Regions from separate parts of the Homo sapiens genome. Here all the other regions are linked to region 2. The links are contacts of gene promoters, found by promoter capture Hi-C in blood cells and fetal thymus (Javierre and others, 2016). All regions are on one chromosome and are shown on one strand. Each heading gives the region's core, a stretch centred on a gene start or on the middle of the fragment in contact. The rest is flanking DNA. Distances are from core to core; before and after follow the strand shown.

The links. The method cuts DNA at HindIII sites, captures the fragments that hold promoters and counts their contacts. A CHiCAGO score of 5 or more calls a contact.
Region 1: a fragment that was not itself captured here is called in contact with the fragment with the promoter of SPIN3 in region 2 in 1 of 17 cell types (monocytes); the score reaches 5.5 in monocytes.
Region 3: a contact is called between a fragment that was not itself captured here and the fragment with the promoter of SPIN3 in region 2, in 2 of 17 cell types (non-activated CD4 T cells and total CD4 T cells). The highest score is 5.3, in non-activated CD4 T cells.

What each region holds. Positions count from the first base shown.
Region 1 is chrX:57,896,923-57,901,114 of GRCh38, reverse strand. No RefSeq gene overlaps it. Among named protein-coding and RNA genes, the nearest start is that of ZXDA, 11 kb to the left of the region's middle. The HindIII fragment of the contact is 2,126 bases long and covers 1,388-3,513 here.
Region 2 is chrX:56,993,619-56,997,720 of GRCh38, reverse strand. It overlaps SPIN3 (spindlin family member 3), which reads left to right and starts at 2,180. Exons shown (of 2, transcript NM_001010862.3): 1 at 2,180-2,505; 2 at 2,772-4,102. The coding sequence starts at 2,774. The coding sequence ends at 3,550. RefSeq lists an enhancer at 2,149-2,248. The HindIII fragment of the contact is 2,350 bases long and covers 1,557-3,906 here.
Region 3 is chrX:56,267,633-56,271,407 of GRCh38, reverse strand. KLF8 (KLF transcription factor 8) reads right to left here. Exons shown (of 6, transcript NM_007250.5): 4 at 1,919-2,030; 5 at 1,087-1,226. Among named protein-coding and RNA genes, the nearest start is that of KLF8, 37 kb to the right of the region's middle. The HindIII fragment of the contact is 5,951 bases long and covers 1-3,775 here.

The DNA.
Region 1 (4,192 bases), core at 1,201-3,700, 900 kb before region 2:
AGGCGAGGTCCAATTTTAGAATGTGCTGCTAGGCAGAGTGAGAACTATTTTTCCTCCCGATTTGTGTTGGCATTAGTTCGTTAATGCTAAACTTGACCCTTGATATTTCCAAAGAGATGCAACAGCTTTCCCTTTAAAGTCATTTTATGTTCTTGTGCTTTCTGGAACTTGTTTTATTTTAAATTATTAATAATAATAGGAATTGCATCAAATGTTATGACATGCTAGTAGAAGAGGGAATAAGCCAATATTATTTTTGCCTCACTTTCTAAAATAGCGTTGATTAAGTAAAACTTGCTTTTCTATTTTTTATGTGAGAGCTCATTTTGCCATTTGGGTATGTCACTTTCATTTATGTACTTAGGAAGCATTAGGATTTAAGAACATTGTTAAAATAAGTCTTTATAACTTTAGAAATGTGGTTACTTTGAAAATGGAAAAACCTAGACTAGCCTTACTACTTTTTTTAGATAACAGGGAAGACTTATGGAAATGAATGAAAGGCAAATTCAATTGGAAAAAAGAGATTAATTTCTTATTAAATCAAATTCTCTGTATTTATAAATTTTGCTGATAAATCCACTCTTGTATATTATTCAGCATATTTCTATTCAGTTCATTTTTAGAATAGTTTATCTACAGCAGTAAGTCTATGTGAAATCTAAAAATTTGACTAACTTTTATTATATTTCATTTTTACAGTAGGCAGTGGATAGTCATTTTCACTGCTAAATCTATGTACCAAATCTACTGAGTATTGCAAAAACACACTGGATAGAATATTATTTGCAAAGTGATTCTTGTTGTCATTCACCATAGATTCTTTTGGGACAAAAAAATTCTTAAAGATAAAATGTTGCCTGTATTTATAAAAATCATTGAGGATTCTTCCCAAAAATAGAAATGAGAAAATAGAATTTAAACAATCAAATGATTAAGTTTGCTCTATAGCCAAGTGTTTTGGTCTAAGTGTCTTTGGTTGAAAGCATCTGGATAAAAGCATAGTGACAATTTTGAAGCATGTCCAGAATTTTCCAGTTACAGTTAGACATAAAAAAAATCAAAGAGCCATTATTGCAACATTGGTAATCTGTCTGTCTAATACAATCTATCTTTTGAAAGTTTCTTGAAGACAGTAATAAGTAAAGAGAAAAGTTACAGATTTGGGCCCTGACTATGAAATGCCAAAATGTTATGAAATTGGAGGCTATTGATTATTTTACATGATAATTTTAGTAGTTGGTGTTTTTAAGTATTTCCACTCCAAGTATTTTTAAGAGTATTTTTAAACTAAATGTGAATCTTTGATTCATGCCTTTAAAATTGCTAATTGATTTTTATTTTATTTTTATTTTCAAGATTGTTGGATTATTCAATTCAATAAGCTTCCAGATACCAACCTATAGATTGTTAGTTGTGAGGCTATATTGTGTATTTTAATTATTTCTTGATATAATTTTAAGTTACCATGTATTGAATTATAACTGGCCCTAAAACATTTTTTAATTTGTAAATTTTATTTTTATAACTTTTATTGAAATATACTTTAAAAATATAACATACATTACAAAATTGCTTTATTAATTTTCAAAAAATGAATACACCTATAAAACCACTACTCAGATGAAAGGATTACCAGAACCTCAAAGCTCCCTCATATTCTCTGCTAGTCACTACCATCCTGTACCAAAATAAATAACTTGATTTTCAAAACCAAAAGTTAGATGTTTTTTATTTGCTTGTTTCTCTTCGTTTATTATTATTATTGAGATAAAATTCACATAATGTAAAATTCACCATTTTAAAATATACAATTCAGTCATTTTTAAAACATTCATAATGTTGCTGAGTCATCACAACTGGGTAATTCCAGAACACCTCTGCCACTCTGAAAAGAAATCCCATAATCATTCTCCATTCCCTCATCTCCAGGAAACCACTAATTTACTTTCTGTCTCTATGGATTTGTCTATTATGCATATTTCATATGAATGGAATTGTACAATATATGCTTTTGTGTCTGGCTTTTCTTAGTATGATGTTATTAAAGTTCATCCATGTTTTAGCACATATCAGTACTTCACTCTTTTCATGGCTGAAATGTATCACATTGTATAGCTATATTGCATTTTATTTGTTAATTAATTAATGGACATTTGAGTTGTTTCCACCTTTAGGTATTATTAGTTTTTGCTATCAATATTTGTGTACAAGTTTTTTTGTGAATATATTAAAACTACAGATTAGTTTTATTTTTAAACTTTATGGAAAGTTTATATTCTTTTTGACTTCTTTTACTCAACATTTTGTTTGTGAAATTCAGCCATGGTTTAGCATGTATAAACAATTCATTTATTCATTTTTATTTTAAGAGAGAAGGTCTCTCTTTGTCATCCAGGCTGGAGTGCAATGGCACTATCATAGCTCATTGCAGCCTTGATCTTCTGGGCTCAAGGTATCCTCTCACCTCAGCCTCCCTAGTATCTGGGACTACAGGCATAGGACACCACACGTGGCTTGTTCATTTATTTTTGTTGTAGAATTATAGTGTATCCCTCACCCATAATTTTTTTAGTTTCTGCTTATAGGCATTTATATTGTTTCCAGTTATTGGCAAGTGCTAATTATGCTGCTATGAACAATCAAATAAATAAATGGGAGTGTAGCTAGGTATGTTAAATTTTAGTAAGCACTGCCAGTTTTCCAAGGTGTTTGTACTAATTTACACATTCACCATCAGATATGGGAGTTCTTATGAGTGAGAATGTGAAATATTTGTCTTTCTGTGTCTGACTTGTTTCACTTAAGATAATGACATCCAGTTCCATCCATGTTGCTACAAAAAATGTGATTTCATTCTTTTTATGGCTGAATAGTATTTCATTGTGTATACATACCACATTTTCTTTATCCAATCATCTATTGATGAACACTTAGGTTTATTCCATATTTTTGCTATTGTGACTAGAGCTGAAATAAACATACAAGTGCAGCTATCTTTTTAATATAATGATTTTTTTTCCTTTGGGTAGACATCCAGCAGTGGGATTGCTGGATCAAGTGGTAGTTCTATTTTTAGTTCTTCGGGAAATCTCCATACTTAGTTTTTCATAAAGGTTGTACTAATTTAAATTCTCACCAACAATGTATAAAAGTTCCCTTTTCTCCACATCCTTGTCAATATGTGTTATTCTTTGACTTTTTAATTATACCATTCTGACTGGGGTAAGATAATATCTCATCATGGTTTTAATTTGCATTTTTTTCTGATGACTAGTGATGTTGAATACTTTTTTCACGTATCTGTGGGGCATTTGTAGGTCTTTTGAAAAATCTCCATACATGTCATTTTTCCATTTTTTAATGGGATTTTCTTTCTTTGTTGAGTTGGCTGAGTTCCTTGTATACTCTGAATACTAGTGCCCTGTTGGATGTATACTTTACACATATTTTCTCCCATTCTACAGGTTGTCTGTTCACTTTGTTTATTATTTCCTGTGCTGTGCAGAAGCTTTTTAGTTGAAGTCTCATTTGTCTATGTCAGTTTTTGTCGCCTGTTCCTTTGAGATCTTAGTCATAAATTATTGGCCTAAACCGAGGCCCAAAAGAGTTTTCCCTAGGTTTTGTTCTAGAATATTTGTTTCAGCCTTACATTTAAATCTTTAATCCATCTTGAGTTGATTTTTGTGTATGGTAAGACATAGCAGTTACATTCCCGTGCTTATGAAAATCAAATTTTCCCAGCACCATTTGCTGAAAGTGTTCTTTCTCCAATGTATGTTCTTTTTGACATTTTCAAAGATACATTGGCTGTAACTGTATGGCTTTTTGTTTTGGGTTCTCTATCCTGTCCCATTGATCCATGTTACTATTTTAATAAGAGTACCATGCTGTTTAGGTTACTATAGCCTTCTAGTATAATTTTAAGTAAGGTAAAGTGATGTCTCCAGCTTCGTTCTTTTTGCTAGAACTGCTTTTGCTATTCAGATTTTTTGGGGGGTTTCATATGAAATTTGGGATTCTTTTTGCTAATTCTGTTAAAAATGGTGTCATTTTGATAGGGATTGCATTGAATCTGCAGACTGTTTTAGGCAGTATGGTAATTTTAATGCTATTAGTTCTTCAGATCTGTGAGCATGGAGTGTTTTTCTATTTGTGTCATTTTCAATTTCTTTCATCAGTGTTTTGTAGG
Region 2 (4,102 bases), core at 931-3,430:
TATAAAACATTGCTGAAATAATTTAAAGAAGATCTAAATAAATTGCAAGATACCCAGTGTTCATAGGAAACTCTGTTTGTGGGAAATTATGCCCTCTGGAAACTCTGTGTTCATGGATTGTAAGACAATATTGTTGAGATAACAATACTTCCCAAGTTTATCTGCAGAGTCAGTGCAACCCTTATCAAAATCCCAACAGTCCTTTTGTTCAGAAAAGGAAAAGACAATCCTAAAATTCATATGAAATTGAAAGGAACTATGAAATTAGCTGAGCATGGTGGTACATGCCTGTAACCCCAGATACTCAGGATGGTGAGACAGGAGAATCGCTTGAACCCGGGAGGTGGAGGTTGCAGTGAGCCGAGATTGTGCCACTGCACTCTAGCCTGGGCGACAGAGCAAGACTCTGTCTCAAAAAAAAAAAAAAAAAAAAAAAAAAAAAAGGAGCATGAGTAGCCAATACAATCTTAATAATATTTTCAGAGAAATCACACTTACTGATTTCAAACATACTGCACAGTTACAGTAATCAAAAAATAAATGTGGTTCTTGCATAAAGATAAATTAAAAACGTGGTTTTTGCATAAAATTCTATGAAATAGAATTAAGAGTCCAGATATAAGCCTATACATCTGTACTAAATTGATTTTCAACAAGTATGCCAAGACAATTAAAAAGGCTAAGAATTGTCTCTTCAACAGAAGGTGCTGAGACAACTGGATATCCATGTGCAAAACAATGAATTTGGTCCCCTTCATCACACCATACATAATAATTAACTCAAAATGGGTCAAAGACATAAATATAAGAGCTAAAAACAAACAAAATTTTACAAGAAAATATAGGGGTACATTTTCATGAACTTGGATTTGGCAGTGTTTATTTAGGTGTGACTCCAAACGCACAACCAAGTTTTAAGCTTTTGTGCATCAAAAATACTATCAAGAAAGTGAAGACACCCCACAAAACGGGATAAAATATTTTCATATCATATATCTGATAAGGTTCTCTCATCCAGAATTTAAAAAGAACAATTAACAGCCCTGCTACAAACAATTCATTTAAAAAATGAACAAAGCACTTGAAATAGACATTTCTCCAAAGATACACAAATGTCCAACAAGCACACAAAAAGATGCTCATCCTCATTAGTCATTAGAGAAATGCAAATTAAAACCACAATTAGGTACCACTTCATACCCACTAGGATGGCTGTAACGATAAAACTGATTGAATCACTTCTAAAATGTCTTTCTCCACAGATTTATGATCTCACAAATTCCTGTTTTAATTATAGCAATTGTTCTAAGTTTAGTGTCTAGGTTATTCTGTTCAAGTGAACAGAATAATTCATGCGCAAGCACAATTTATAGGTATTTAACAATTAAACGTCTGAAGATAGGAGGCAACGGCAAAATTATGAAAAATCCTAATGCTTAATTTTATGAAGCTACTACAAAACATGTTCTCAGAAAATATCTAAAAAATTGAGCAAATGTTTATTCTACATGGAAATGAGCAGGACATGAAAGTGCATATTCAAAATTATCCAAGCTTTGTAAGAGCTTAGAAAAAAGGAAAAGGAAATAGTGTTAATATTTCACTGTGAGCCCTGGAAAATGGGAGGCCGGCTTAGTTAATTATTTTCTCTTCATGTCAATTTTCTGAATTTTACAGTGTCAATATTGTGCATGCAATTCTTTTGCAATCAGGGGAAAAGAAAAGAAATCCTCAAGAAGTTAAGTCTGGGAATGACAAGTCAGTAAAAATTACGTAGATTGGGTCAAGATGGCAGCCTGAACACTGAGCAGTAGCGCATTTCTCTTGTCCTACCACAAATCCCCTTCAATGGAGGGTGGGGGGACGCGGGGAGGGAGGGGAAAGGAAAGGGCTAATTCCTGAAAGGTGGAAAGCAGAAGGGGCAGGGGCGCAGAGGGTTGAGGTTAGGTGAGGGGAGGGGCGCGTGCTAAACCAGAAGAGGTAAACCAATGCAGTGAGAGAGAGGTGGTTGTGGGCTCCACAGCTTCTGATTTGGAGGAAGCTGCGAGACCGAGAGCCTAGGAGCACCTTCCACGCCCAGGGCTGTGGTACAGGTTGGTGGGGGAGGGGCGCCACGCGGTGTTTGGCAGGAAGGGGAGGCCTCTCTACTGACCGGAAGCTGCGCTAGAAAAAGAAGGAGGAGACTGCGGCGCAGCAGCGACTAGTGGGAGTCCGATGTGGGAGAGGGGCTGCGGCCACCGCCACCGCCGCCGCCACCAGGAAGGCGGAGGACGCAGGAGCCAAGAGCAAGGGACGCCGCCACGGTCATCTTCGCCTGCCCCGCCGCCCTCTTAGAGACACTCATTGCCTATGGATCATCCTCTCCCAGCTTTTGCAAGCACCGGGCTGCTCGCCCGCTGATTTTCCTCCTCCATAGGCTCACTGCGGAGGCAACGGCGAGGTGTCCGATTTGTGCACTTGAGGCCCGCAATCCGGGACGGTGGGGAATCTGCGCCTCCTGGCCGGGTAGTGTTGGAAGCAGGGCGAGGGGAATGGGGAAACGCTTCGTATTTCACCGAACCGCAGATCTTAGCCAGACTGAGCTGGGGAGGAAGGTTACTGCAGGCACTCAGCCAGGGTGCCTTGATTTCCAGCTTTGCTATCTAGCTTTCGGGAAAAACAGGTGTGGGTTTACTGGGTGCGCTGATTAGGAGAAAAAGCTCTCCGTGTTATGCATTGATTTTGTTAATTTCCTTTCTCGGTCCACCTGGCAACTGTGCTCCTCTTCGCAGGCATGAAGACCCCGTTTGGAAAGGCAGCTGCAGGGCAGCGGTCCAGGACGGGCGCTGGCCACGGCAGTGTGTCTGTTACCATGATAAAGAGGAAGGCTGCACACAAGAAGCATAGGAGCCGACCCACCTCCCAGCCTCGGGGGAACATCGTGGGCTGCAGAATTCAGCACGGATGGAAAGATGGAGATGAACCTCTAACACAGTGGAAAGGAACCGTTCTGGATCAGGTACCTGTAAATCCCTCTCTGTATCTTATCAAATATGATGGATTTGACTGTGTTTATGGATTGGAACTTCACAGAGATGAAAGAGTGTCATCACTTGAAGTCCTTCCTAATAGAGTTGCATCATCTAGAATCAGTGATACACACTTGGCAGAAATAATGGTTGGCAAAGCAGTGGAACATATTTTTGAGACAGAGGAAGGTTCCAAAAATGAATGGAGGGGGATGGTCTTAGCTCAGGCACCTGTCATGAACACATGGTTTTACATTACCTATGAGAAAGATCCTGTATTATATATGTACCAGCTCTTAGATGATTATAAAGATGGTGACCTCCGCATCCTTCAAGATTCCAATGATTCTCCTCTGGCAGAGAGGGAGCCAGGAGAAGTCATAGACAGCCTGGTAGGCAAACAGGTGGAATACGCCAAAGACGATGGCTCCAAGAGAACTGGCATGGTCATTCATCAGGTAGAAGCAAAACCCTCTGTGTACTTCATCAAATTTGATGATGATTTCCATATCTATGTCTACGATTTGGTAAAAACATCTTAGAGGTCATCTTGAAATTTGCCAAATATATGAGACTCTAAATCTGTAGACACAGAAAGTCTTGATTGCTTTCCAGTTTGTAAGAACCATCTTCTCCCTTTTTGCACGTTTTGCTTGGCAAAAAAATTGGAACTTCTGCCCTCTCATACGTTTTTGGAAGAAACCTTTTGCCCATCTGTCCAACCTTTTCACTGGTTCCTCTCCGCAATTTAACTGATTAGTGAGAAGGGTAAAGTCTGACATCCATTGGCTCATACTTTTTTTTATCTTGGGTGGTGTTAATAGATTAAAGGTAGCTGAACACCTCTCACCTCACTCTTTTTGGCACTTGGACTCTACACTCATTGAGGTGTGAAGCTTGCTGAGATATCCCATGTGACTGGCTGGGTAAGTGTCTTTGCAATCTCAAATCTCCCCCAAGTGGCTTCAAAAATCTAACTTGGGAAAGAGTGGGAAGCCCATTTTGGTCTCTTGTTCAAGTTGCATTCTCAGTTCTAACTGTACTAAAAGTAAGGCTAATAATTTTGCTCTCTTTCCGGTTCTTTCACCTATTGC
Region 3 (3,775 bases), core at 1,067-3,566, 730 kb after region 2:
ATCTGGCTTCTAGGCAGGTTTCTTTGAATTCCTGGGGTTATAAAAAATTTTTGAACTAGAAGCCAACATTCAAAATCAAGGACATTTCACATAATAATCTGGATTTTTTTTTTTTGCTTTTCTTTAACAATTAAATTTACTAATACAGTCGTCCCTCAGTATCCATGGGGGATTGATTTCAGAGCCACCTACATTCCCAACCCCACCCATCGGGTGGATAACGAAATTCATGGATGCTTAAGTCCCTGATATAAAATAACATAGCATTTGCATATAATCTATACACATTCTCTCCTATATTTTAAGTCATCTCTAGATGTACTTACGTTACCTAATACCATGTAAATGCTATGTAAGTAGTTGTTATACTGTATTTTAAAATTTGTATTTTTTTATTGTTGTATTGTTATTTTTGTTGTTTAAAAAATATTTTTGATTTGTGGTTGGTTGAATCCACGGATGTGGAACCTAAGAATATTGATGGCTGACTACATGGATTTGAGTGGCAGCTCTCCTTCTTCAGATCAGGTATGTGCTGTTCGGTTTGACAGGATCACTACCAGGTCTGCTTTATTTATTTATGTGCACCTTTTTTTTTTAATGTGAACAAAGACACGTTAATGGTTAGTGGATTACAACCTGCTTTAATTTCACATAGTTTAAATTGTTCTTGTGCTTTTCCATGCTTAGTAAAACTTGTGAGACCCTGGTAGTAAGGAAGGGAGTAATGCCTTAATCTTTGCTTAAGTGTTGACTCCGCAATTAGAAAGACCCACAGGGCTCACTGGGAATGATGACTATTAAGACACCAGATTTAGTTTAGTGTTTTCCTAGGCCAGTTTTATAAAATCTGCCTTAGAGTAGGGACAAGAAATAGGGATAAAAACCATGAATGGAGCCTGTGCCCATGAGTATAAATGCATCAGTCTTTGTTTCAGGACTTCATTCTCTGTCTCTCAGAAATTTTCTCTCTCTCTCTCTGCCCCTCTCTCTCTCTCTCTCTGCCCCTCTCTCTCTCTCTCTCTCGTGTGTGTGTGTGTGTGTGTGTGTGTGTGTGTGTTGGGGGTGAGATGGGAGTGGGCAGACCTGTATGGATTCTGCGGTGAGCTTTCAGGTGAGAGCTTTTGGTGTACACTTTGCTGCATCCTGCAAAGTCACATTGGTGAATCCGTCTTCTCTTCAAGTCAAGCGACTCTTCTCCCTGCATTTGGGCCATTGCTGCTGGTCTGATCAAAGAAATAGAGATAAAGCCAAACAGTGACTTTAAAGTGAAGGCTAAAAAAATGAATTTACATTCATTGGTGCCACATCATATCGGCTTTTAATTTACGTGAATTTAATGCTAGGTCCCCCCAAAAAGAAATAATTGGAATAGTAAAAACAATTCTGTCAACTAGGCCATTCTGCTCAGTAGGTACAGGTCCCTCAGTAGGTGCTCAGAGAAAGCATGGGAGGTGGTAGTGTTTCCTTCAGTGGTTGTGTTCCCAAACAGTGTGAGCATTTCACTTCAATAAGTTTCATTTTCCTGCTTAAAGAAATTTGTTTTTCATACAACAGTTGTTGCTAAACACAAGCCAACTACTTCCAATTAGTTTCAATATTGAAAGACAAAGCTGTTTTAAACTTACAGAGAGAAACAGTACATAACTACACTTTATGGGAAATTTGAAGATTTTTCAAAAGAAAAATTGATGATCTACAGTTAGAACATAGCTCTACTATAGCATGCATGTACATGCACATGTGTGCACACAAACTCATATACTTTCACTGGAAAGGCAGTCTCCCTATATTTCTTGTCCTCAAATTCTTACTCTTGTGTCTGATCATTAGTTCCACCTATACATATGTGCAAATGTACACACACACACACACACACACATACACAAAGACAGACTTGAAGACAAAAAGTACTCACTCTTGCTGTAGTCCCTGCAGACTCTGCAAGGCTGAGGATCCACTCTCAATTGTACTCTCCTCACTGTCACTTGGAATTTCCAGTGGAGACATGGAGGTGGGGTCAACTTTCACTAAAAGCAAAGAAAGGGAGCAGTGTGAGCTGAAGATGTATGTGCCTCTTTAATCATTTTCAGGATTCCCAGTTTGTCCCACCTTAAGAAGTGGCAGCAAGACAGAAAAATAAAGAAATAAAAAACAAGATGAAAGAAGTGTATTTGCATGGAAGGAAGAGAATAACATTTTATTTTTTTTTTTTGCATAGCAGGGAACAGAAATGCCTTTAAAGTAAGAGTAGTATGAAGAGTTCTGATACCACTATGAGTGGTATCAAATGAGAGTGTCTCTAGGATGTGGTCTGGGTATGATTCATCTTTCTATCTCCAGCTACCAGGACAGGGTCAGCTGAAAAGTTAGTTTCAACGTGTGTGTGTGTGTGTGTGTGTTGAATTGAACTCACTGAATAGCTCCTGGCTGTCCTAAAATCAAATTCTAGGATTAGTCCAGATGTGAGAACATCCACCTTGGCCTTTGTGCTCCTAAACAGAAATAAGTCAATGAGATGAAACGTATACCTACCACCTAGTAGGTGCTTGATACAACCTTCCTTTCCACCTATGTTGGGAGAAGCTGTCAAATATTCCTTATTATCAACCCCTGATGTTTCTAATTCCTAAAAACTCAATCAGGTGGTCAACAGTCTCCTAGATCCAGTGAAACCTTCAAAATTTCTATAGAGAAGAAACTTGGGGGTGGTGATAAGGTGGGGAACAAGTATTTGGTTAAAAGAGTTGTCTCTATACTTTGCATATCATTCACTAAAAAGTTTTAAGCATGTATCTTGAGGTGTGCATGTTTGTGCATGTATGTGATATACATGTATCGGTATCCTACAATTTTGTATACATTATAAGAAAACAAACAAAAAGTAGTATGTCATCTCACTTAAGTTAGAGTGACTATTATCGAAAAGACAAAAGACAGTAAGTGCTGGTGAGTATGTGGAGAAAAGGGAACACTTACACACTGTTGATGGGAATGTAAACTAGTTATAGCCTTTATGGAAAATAGTATGGAGGTTCCTCAAAAACTTAAAATTAGAACTACCGTATGATCTGGCAATCTCCCTTCTGGGTATATATCCAAAGGAAATAAAATCACATGCCCAAAAGATAACTGCATCCCTGTTTAGTGCAGCATTATTCACAACAGCCAAGATGTGGAACCAACCTAAAATATCTATCAACAAATGAATGAATAAATGAAATGTGACATATATATATATACAATATAATATTATTCAGTTATAACAAAGAATAAAATCCTGCCATTTGTGAGAGCATAGATGAACCTGGAGGACATTATGTTAAGTGAAATATGCCAGGCACAGAAGGACAAATAGTGCATGATCTCACTCATATGTGGAATCTAAAAAAGTTAATCTCATGCAAGTAGAGTAGAATGGTAGTTACCAGAGGCTGGGGTGGCTAGTGGGGAGGGGGATGGGGAGATATTGGTCAAAGGATACGTAATTATAGCTAGATAGGAGGAATACATTTCAAGAGATCTATTGTATAGCAAGGCAAGTATAGTTAATGATGATACATTTTATTTATTAAAATTGTAAAGAGAATGGACATTAAGTGCTCTCACCACAAAAATGATAATGAGGTAATGCATTTATTATTTAGCTAGATTTAACCATTCCACAATGCATATGTACTTCAAAACATCATGCTATAGATGATTAAAACATACAATATTACCTGTCAATTTTTAAGGGTAAGAAAATACAAATTTTGATACTTTCTTCTTGCAC